Regions from separate parts of the Homo sapiens genome. Here region 1 is linked to region 2. The links are contacts of gene promoters, found by promoter capture Hi-C in blood cells and fetal thymus (Javierre and others, 2016). All regions are on one chromosome and are shown on one strand. Each heading gives the region's core, a stretch centred on a gene start or on the middle of the fragment in contact. The rest is flanking DNA. Distances are from core to core; before and after follow the strand shown. Region 1 has its middle 21 kb from the start of BNIP5. Region 2 holds the start of ARMC12 (armadillo repeat containing 12).

Region 1 (4,210 bases), core at 969-3,468, 620 kb after region 2:
GCAGTGAACTTAAAGAGTATCAAACAATCCCTTGACTAAAAATTGTACCTCCTTAAGAAATAGACCTTTCATAATTGTGCAAGACAGAAACCACAACTCAAACCAACATAAGTGAAAAGGAGATGTATTCGAAAGCTATTGGGATTGTCAAAGAATTGAAGCAATTACAGCTATCAAAATTTCACATGTGGCTGGGCACAGTGGCTCACGCCTGTAATCCCTTCTCTTTGGGAAGCCAAGGCAGGTGGATTGCATTGAGCTCAGGAGTTTTGAGACCAGCCTAGGCAACACAGTGAAACAATGATGAGCAATGATGGCACCATTGCACTCCAGCCTGGGTAAAAGAGTGAGACCCTGTCTCAAAAAAAAAAAAAAAACAAAAAAAAACACAAACAAACACACGTATCCCAAACATATATACAACTATTATATATCAATTTTTTAAAAAGAATTGAAGAAAGATCTGCAGGGATCATGACAGCTCCGAGAGCCCCAAGATTAGAAGTGGAGACCAGACCCTCCAGGGACTTCACCTCACCTTTCTGCCCCTCTGGTGTCCCCTCATGGCAGAAGACACAGCTGCCACTAGCTTGGGGTAACTTCCCAGCCAGACACAGAAAGAGAAATCCCAGGGAAGGACCCTGATTGGCCTATCCTGGATCATGCACCATCTGGACCAGTTGCTGTGGCCACGGAAATGGGCTTCTCTTAATGGCCCAGCCTGGGCTACAGGGCCCTCCCCAACTGCTGGGGGCAGGACACTGTGATGGAGTAGGAAAAGAGTTACTCCCAGAGACAAAGTTATTACCAGGAGGATGGTAGATGGAATGCTGGGCTGACACCTGCATTACTTCACAGCCAGTCTCTCCTAAGGATTAAGGCATTGTCCTGTGAAGATGTGTGTATCAAGTGGAGATACACTATGGAGGGAAATTTGCGGGACCCCATCACCACCCGTGAAAACATCATCACAGGTTAATTCATCAAAGTTCTATGCCATAACGCAAAGAAGCAGCTGTAAAGGATTGGAAGCCAGCATGGAGTTTTGATGGGAAGTTGGGAGAAGATATATGGCAGACAGTGCATTACAAATTATCTCTTTTTTTTGGATCCACAAGGAGAAACCTATGTTTTAATCTACATGTAGGGAGCCAGGTATCTCAGGAAAATCAAGATACCATTTGCCACTGAGAGGGCTGCTGAATGTCAGTTGAACAGATTTCAACTGAAAGCCTAAAAGGTCCAGGGGAAGGAGCAGTGACACAGCTTGGAAAGGATATGGCTGCACAGAGAGGGCAGCGCACAGAAGCTGCAGCCTTAAGTAGGAGAACACAGCCAACCTGTGGGAGCCAGCAGGGAGGGACTAGAGAAATAAAATACCTTGGCAATCTCCGACCAGAGAGTTTCTTGACTAAAACCAACCAGGAGCCAGAGGACAGGAAGCCCACTGGGGCAATCCATACAGGACAGTCTCCTGGCCACAGAGCAGGATGAAGAGGGGTGGAGAATGGTGTAAATAAGAGGAAAAGTCACTCAAAAGGAGCAAGGAATATAGGTGGAATATCACAAGCCTGAGTTCTGACAACAAATATGGGCAGAAATGATGGGCGCCTCCCATAAGAACACCTCCCCGGCCACGTGCGCTGGCTCATGCCTGTAATCCCAGCACTTTGGGAGGTCAAGGCAGGCAGATCACCTGAGGTCAGAAGTTCGAGACCAGCCTGGCCAACATGGAAAAACCCTATCTCTACTAAAAATATAAAAAATTAGCCAAGTTTGGTGGCACACACCTGTAATCCCAGCTACTCGGGAGGCTGAGGCATGAGAATCACTTGAACCTGGTAGGTGGAGGTTGCAGTGAGCCAAAATTGTACCACTGCACTCCAGCCCAGGTGACAGAGTGAGATTCTGTCTCAAAAACAAAAACAAAAACAAACAAAAAAACACCTCCCCAATCCTTCACGCTTTCTCCTCCCTACCTGCGGGCTGGGTGTCAATCCCCCATACAGAAACCACATGAAGGAGACAGTACAACCTCCATCAGCCTGGGTCCCCAGATGACTTCATGGGGAAGATCCCTCCCCACCCATGAACCAAGCTTTATGTGGCCAAGAAAATGAATGTCTATCACATCAAGCCACTGAGATTTCAGTTGAGATGCTATGGCCAGCATGACTCTAACTGATACAGTAGCTGCAGATGACGTAGGGCTGGCCTCCTTAGAAGGGAAGCTGGACTTTGATCTGGACATGTCTTCCTCACTTAAAAGCTGGGTGAATTAATTTGCATTGTCAGAAAGGCACTTCATCTTGCTCAAAATAAAGATGTGGTTGAGCTGCCAAGCTTTTGTTTCTGTCATTTCACTGGGGGCCTTCTGCTGCTGGCTCTAGTTCAGGTCTCCTGCTTTGTCAAAGGCCCTTTTTTCTTTTGGTGGCCAATCAAGACCCAGCTTGGTAAATTACTCACTGGTCAGTCAGGAAAAAATAATGTTCTTATTGCAAATCACTTTAGAGTTTGCAGAGGGCTAGAGTTGGCATATTCTGTTCCTAAGGTTGGAAGGGTCCCTGGCTGAAAGCCCAGAATCCCAGAATCTCAAGGTCCCCCTGATGTTCAGTTTCCCCATCCCCCAAACCCTAACACTGGGTCAGCTCACTGACCCTTGTGGGGGTGGTGGAGAAGAAAGTGCCTTTGTTGGTGCTTTAGAAGCTCTCTAGAGATTTGCACGCCACGTTCAGCCACCCACAATCAGCTGTCCCCTGAGAATCTGATATGTACTCCCCACCCCACACCACAGGTCGAGAACCTGAGCTTGTCACTGGCTGGAGCATATGATCATGTGACTGAGGGGAAAGCTCTTCCTGCTCAGAATTGCTGGAATTTTAAGAGCCATATTTAGAACTCTGGGGCTTTCCAGCCAGAGCACTTTCAACAATACACCGTGCTTCCTTGAGTTAGGATGTTTAGATGGGCCAGATCTAGAGAACTGAGGTCTATTCAGGAGACTTTGTGATCTCGGTCTTAGCTGATGGCTCCCCCAAAGGAAGAGGATGGGAGAGGGGCAGCTCTAGGCCAAGATGGTCTTCTCCACCCAGCCTGTCTACATTATTCATATCCATTAAGATTGCATTGGGTTGCACATAACAAACTAACAACAGTGTCCATCTTTCATGGTGTGACCTGCAGATTAAACAGAAAGGGGATGGACAGGCTGGGCGAAGTGGCTCACACCTATAATCCCAGCACTTTGGGAGGCCAAGGTGGGCAAATCACCTGAGGTCGAGAGTTCAAGACCAGCCTGACCAACATGGAGAAACCCTGTCTCTACTAAAAATACAAAAATTAGCCAGGTGTGGTGGTGCACGCCTGTGATCCCAGCTACTCAGGAGGCTGAGGCAGGAGGACCACTTGAACCTAGGAGGCGGAGGTTGCGGTGAGCCAAGATTGCACCATTGCTCTCCAGCCTGGGTAACAAGAGCGAAACTCAGTCTCAAAAAAAAAAAGAAAAAAGAAAAAAAGAAAAAAGAAAGAAAGGGGACAGTCTACTACAGGAGAGAAAGTGACATAGGTAAAGATGATTTGTTCCTGCTTACACATGTTTTTTACATCTCTGACAGCTCAATTTAAATTTGGCCCCTCTCACTTGATTCTATTTTATTTTCCTTCATAGTACATATCACCACCTGCCATTTTATTCTGTATTGATTTGTTTATTTATCTGTTCTGGTCACCACAATATTCCTGTTTCTAGACAGTGCTTAACCTACAGTAGGTGCTCAATGAATGTTAAATAAATGAATGCATTATTTCATTTGAAATTTCTCAACTCCATGTGCTAAGCAGGGCAAAGGATGTTGTCTTTCATTTTACAAAAGTAGAAAGTGAGTCCTAGAAGGGTGGTGTAACTAAAGCCAGTAGAAAACTAAGGAAGCCTCAGTCCTTTTTTTTTTTCTTTTGAGACCGAGTCTCACTCTGATGCCAGGCTGGAGTGAGTGGCGCGATCTCGGCTCACTGCCTCCACCTCCCGGGTTCAAGTGATTCTCCTGCCTCAGCCTCCCAAGTAGCTGGGACTACAGGCATGTGCCACCATGCCCAGCTAATTTTTTTATTTTTAGTAGAGACGGAGTTTCACCATGTTGGCCAGGATGGTCTCGATTTCTTGACCTCGTAATCCGCCCGCCTCGGCCTCCCAAAGTGCTGGGATTACAGGCAT
Region 2 (4,038 bases), core at 430-2,929:
CCCACCTTGGGGCTAAATAGAGTGCCAGGAATGATGACCCTTGAGGAGGGCTGAGGACAGGAATAGAATGGCCACCCAGGAGTGTTGCTTGTTCCCTGCCTGCTGCCTAGGGTGTACTGGGCCAAGGCTCTGAGTGGGCAGGCCTGGCTGGCCGCAGCATCATTGGAGATGCTGTTTCCCTACCTCCTTCCATCCTGGGTGCAGCCCAGGACCCAGAGCCTTCTGTCCCAGTTCTCCCAAAAAGGGATCAGGGCCAGGTAGGTGAACACCTGTTCTGGTGCAGCATGCTCAGCACTGGCTGTGGGCGTGGCCCTAGTTTGGAGCTGGCCACTTGCCTGTTCTGCAACAGAGAGTGGGGACAGAAGTTGCGGGGAGACCCTGGTGGGGAAGAGGGAAGGGTCTGGTCTCACCTGCCCCATCCTAGTGGTGGGGATCAAGACCTCCACAGGTGGGCTCACATCCTCTGGGGTGGTGGCATCTTCTGACTCCAGAGGACCTCACAAGCCGCCTCATATCCCTGGGGAGGCTGAGAGGTGATACTTCCAAATTTAGCTGAAAGGCACAGACTTACCCACATTTTAATCCTGGAGTTTTAGAATGGTAAATCCGAATCCCTTTAGGTTACAAATGCAGAAACAGACTAAGGCAAAGGCGATCCCTTTCTCCTCCAAGGTCACTCTGGTTAGAAGGGTCTGGAGCCCCAGTTACTAGATGCTGTCATTGTTCTGCCGCCAAGTCCTTAAAGAATGGCAGAACATGACTTAAACCACCTGCTAAGTACAAGATTCTATGCTGGAGATGCAAAGGTAGCTGTCCTCAAGAGCACTTTGTCAAACAGGTAAACTTCAGGGCAACATGCAGATGCTGGAAAAGGGTGGATTTGCCTCAAGAGTCTGTGCATGCTTTCTAAGATACTCCCCTCCTTTTCATCCTCTGATGCGGGGAGGGAACCCTACCTGAAGAAACACCCCAAGGCCCAGGGGTAGATCTAGGGTGGAGAGATCACATATGGGAGGGCCCGGAAAGAAAAGGAACAGGGTTGTCAATGGGCATACCCCAAACACCTCACCCAGAAATGCCCTAAGGCCCCAGCCCGGAAATGGACCTCTGCTGCCCTCTAATGGTGGAAAGGCAGCCTCTGGAGCTACCTGCTGGGGTCCCCCCTTAAAGAAGAGGAGATGTGAAGGACACTTCTGCCCTCTCCCCTTTTATTCCCCTTCTGTCTTATGCTTCATCTCCTGTGGTCTCTAAAGCAGAACCTTCTCTTTTTTTTTTTGAAATGGAGTCTTGCTCTGTCGCTTAGGTTGGAGTACAGTGGCGTGTCAGCTCACTGCAACCTCAACCTCCCAGGCTTAAGCGATTCTCCTGCCTCAGTCCCCTGAGTAGCTGGGATTACATGTGTGCGCCACAATGCCTGGCTAATTTTTTTGTATTTTTAATAGAGACAAGGTTTCACCATATTGGCCAGGCTGGTCTCGAACTGCTGACCTCAAGTGATCTGCCTGCCTTGGCCTCCCAAAGTGCTGGGATTACAAGTGTGGGCCATGGTGCCTGGCCCCATCTGTTCTCGAGCACTCCTGGCTGCCCCATTTCCTGACCACTGCCCTCCATCCCATTATCTCCCCAGTTTCCTTTGTTGCCTAGGTTCCAATTCTGGTACCCTGGTTCCTGACCCTGCCAGAGTTCTGGTTCCGGAAGGCCCCCCACAGGTGCCTTGGGCCTAGCTCTCACCTGGGCCCAGGGCAACACTGAAGACATGGGCAAGAGCATCCCCCAATACCTGGGGCAACTGGACATCCGCAAAAGCGTAGTCAGCCTGGCCACAGGCGCCGGGGCGATCTACCTGCTCTACAAGGCCATCAAGGCTGGCATAAAATGCAAACCACCCCTCTGTAGCAACTCACCCATCTGCATCGCCCGTGAGTGTCCGGGCCCTGGGGAGAGGGCTCTGCCCCAGGAGGCACCTGCTCCCGAGGCCTCTGCTGTGGGAGGGCCCAAAGGTGATGCCTCCAAGTTCCTCTTTCCTTTGTCTTTCTCTTGTCCATCTTCCTCAAGCCCACCCTGCAGCGTCCTAGGCAAGGCCCTGCCAGAGATGCTAGCTCAGGGTCCCTGGATCTCACTCAAGTGGATCCTCAGACTCATCTGGCAGGTCTCCAAATACTACATTTCCTCTGGCTCCCAGGATTCCACTTCTTGGAAACTTGGTGTCGGCAGCTCCCCCCATCCCTTTTCTGCCCTAGGAACGTGAGGCTTTAAGGAAAGGGAAGATTGGAGGACTTACTATATGCCCAGAGCTTCCACTAGTCCACATGTTCTTTTGTGCAGAGTAGGAAAATGAGCCCCTTCTGCAAGACTCTTTATTGCCATCTGCTGGAATATCATTGCCACATACTGGTTATGATGAAATACTACTTGTTACCGCCATATGCCAGACAGTTGTTAGAGTAAATGGACAAATCTATGATGGTACGTTATGGACAATACAACATTAGATAGGGTGCCCTTGTGCAGTAAACATTCGTTCAACTGTACATGGTGGTCCTGCATATGGCGAGAAGGCTTCTCCGAAAAGGCAAGGCAGCCTTGTCCCCAAGTCCCTGTCCCCTACTTCCCAACCCCATTCTTTCATCACTTCTGAGTCCACAGCCTGAACTGGGCTGGGGTGGCTGTCTAGGCCTGGCAGTCGAGCGAGAGCGGCACGGGCGGGACTCAGGTGAGCTCCGGAGGCTCCTCAACTCTTTGGAGTGCAAACAGGATGAGTATGCCAAGAGCATGATCCTGCACAGTATCACTCGCTGTGTGTACTTGCTGGAGGCTGAGGTAAGGGAAGCAGGAGGTCCCCCCTAGCCGGCCTGGCCCCTGGGGGTTACGGCCGATCCCTGCCCCTGGAATGGCCAGACTATATCCTGGGACCTCTCTCTGGCTGATAGCGGTGGGGGGGGGGTGTGCGGAGGGATCTTGGTGACATGGGGGGCAGTGGGCCCAGAACACCCGCTTCTCCTGCCTCTTCCATCTCTCCCCAATACTCCAGGCCTCTGCTTGTACTACGGATGACATCGTGTTGCTGGGCTACATGCTGGATGACAAGGACAACAGTGTCAAAACCCAAGCTCTGAATACACTTAAAGCTTTCTCTGGCATCAGAAAATTCAGGCTCAAAATCCAGGTGAGCCCAGGGATGCGTGGTGGGGCATGCAGGATGTCTATAGTCCTTAAGTCCTTTAATTGCCATAGGATAAATGGTCATGTTCCAGAAGTTTGTTTGGGTGTGAATTTGTAACCCAGAAATAAGTGGGAAAACGGTGGTCAGATTCCCAGCAGGGTCATGAAGGCCTTTGAATTTCAGGATGAAACTGAATTGAGGCACTAGTGGTATCTCTCAACCCCAAAGAGAAGGACCCCCACTACCCCACAAGCTCCCTACCACTGCCACGTTTTTTCTGACACCAATTCCCAACACTGGCTGGGTGTTCAACAATTCAATTCAGTTCAGACACTATCCATAGTTAGGGCAGACTTCACAGGTTAAGGGCTGAGTCCCCCAAGACTTCCCCCCGACTTCAGGTACCAATCATAGGTCTGACTTCTGACTGGCCCGCTATGAATTCGGGGGTTCCCACAACTCCCTTTTTAGATCTACTAATTTGCTAGAATGGCTCCCAGAACTCAGGAAAGGACTTTACTTACTATTACTGGTTTTTTATATAAAGGACACAACTCAGGAACAGCTAAACGGAGGAGACACATAGGGCAGGGTGTCAGGGCGCGGAGCTTCCAGGCCTGTTCCTGGACCAAACTGAGGGCTGGGCTGCTATTGCTCCTGGCCCAATAACGAGATGCAGATGAACTGGGGAGGAAGAGAGTTTTTATTTCTGTAACCGGTTACAGGGAGAAGGCCAGGAAATTATCGCTGGACCAACTCAAAATTACAAAGTTTTTCAGAACTTATATACCTTCTAAGCTATATGTCTATGTGTAAATGTGCATTCATCTAAAGACGTGATTAACTTCTTTTAATTTATAACTAAGGTCTGAGTC

Evidence for each region. Contacts are between HindIII fragments. The CHiCAGO score rates a contact against its expected background, and 5 or more counts as called.
Region 1: a contact is called between a fragment that was not itself captured here and the fragment with the promoter of ARMC12 in region 2, in 1 of 17 cell types (naive B cells). The highest score is 5.3, in naive B cells.

The regions. Positions count from the first base shown.
Region 1 is chr6:36,355,963-36,360,172 of GRCh38, forward strand. It overlaps a transcript of ETV7 not described here. Among named protein-coding and RNA genes, the nearest start is that of BNIP5, 21 kb to the left of the region's middle. The HindIII fragment of the contact is 245 bases long and covers 2,097-2,341 here.
Region 2 is chr6:35,735,353-35,739,390 of GRCh38, forward strand. It overlaps ARMC12 (armadillo repeat containing 12), which reads left to right and starts at 1,680. Exons shown (of 6, transcript NM_001286574.2): 1 at 1,680-1,919; 2 at 2,675-2,820; 3 at 3,032-3,166. The coding sequence starts at 1,757. It overlaps LOC285847 (a long non-coding RNA gene), which reads right to left and starts at 1,595. Exons shown (of 10, transcript NR_027117.2): 1 at 1,489-1,595; 2 at 411-526; 3 at 1-12. RefSeq lists enhancers at 1,960-2,568, 2,569-3,177, 3,786-4,038. The HindIII fragment of the contact is 11,422 bases long and covers 1-3,126 here.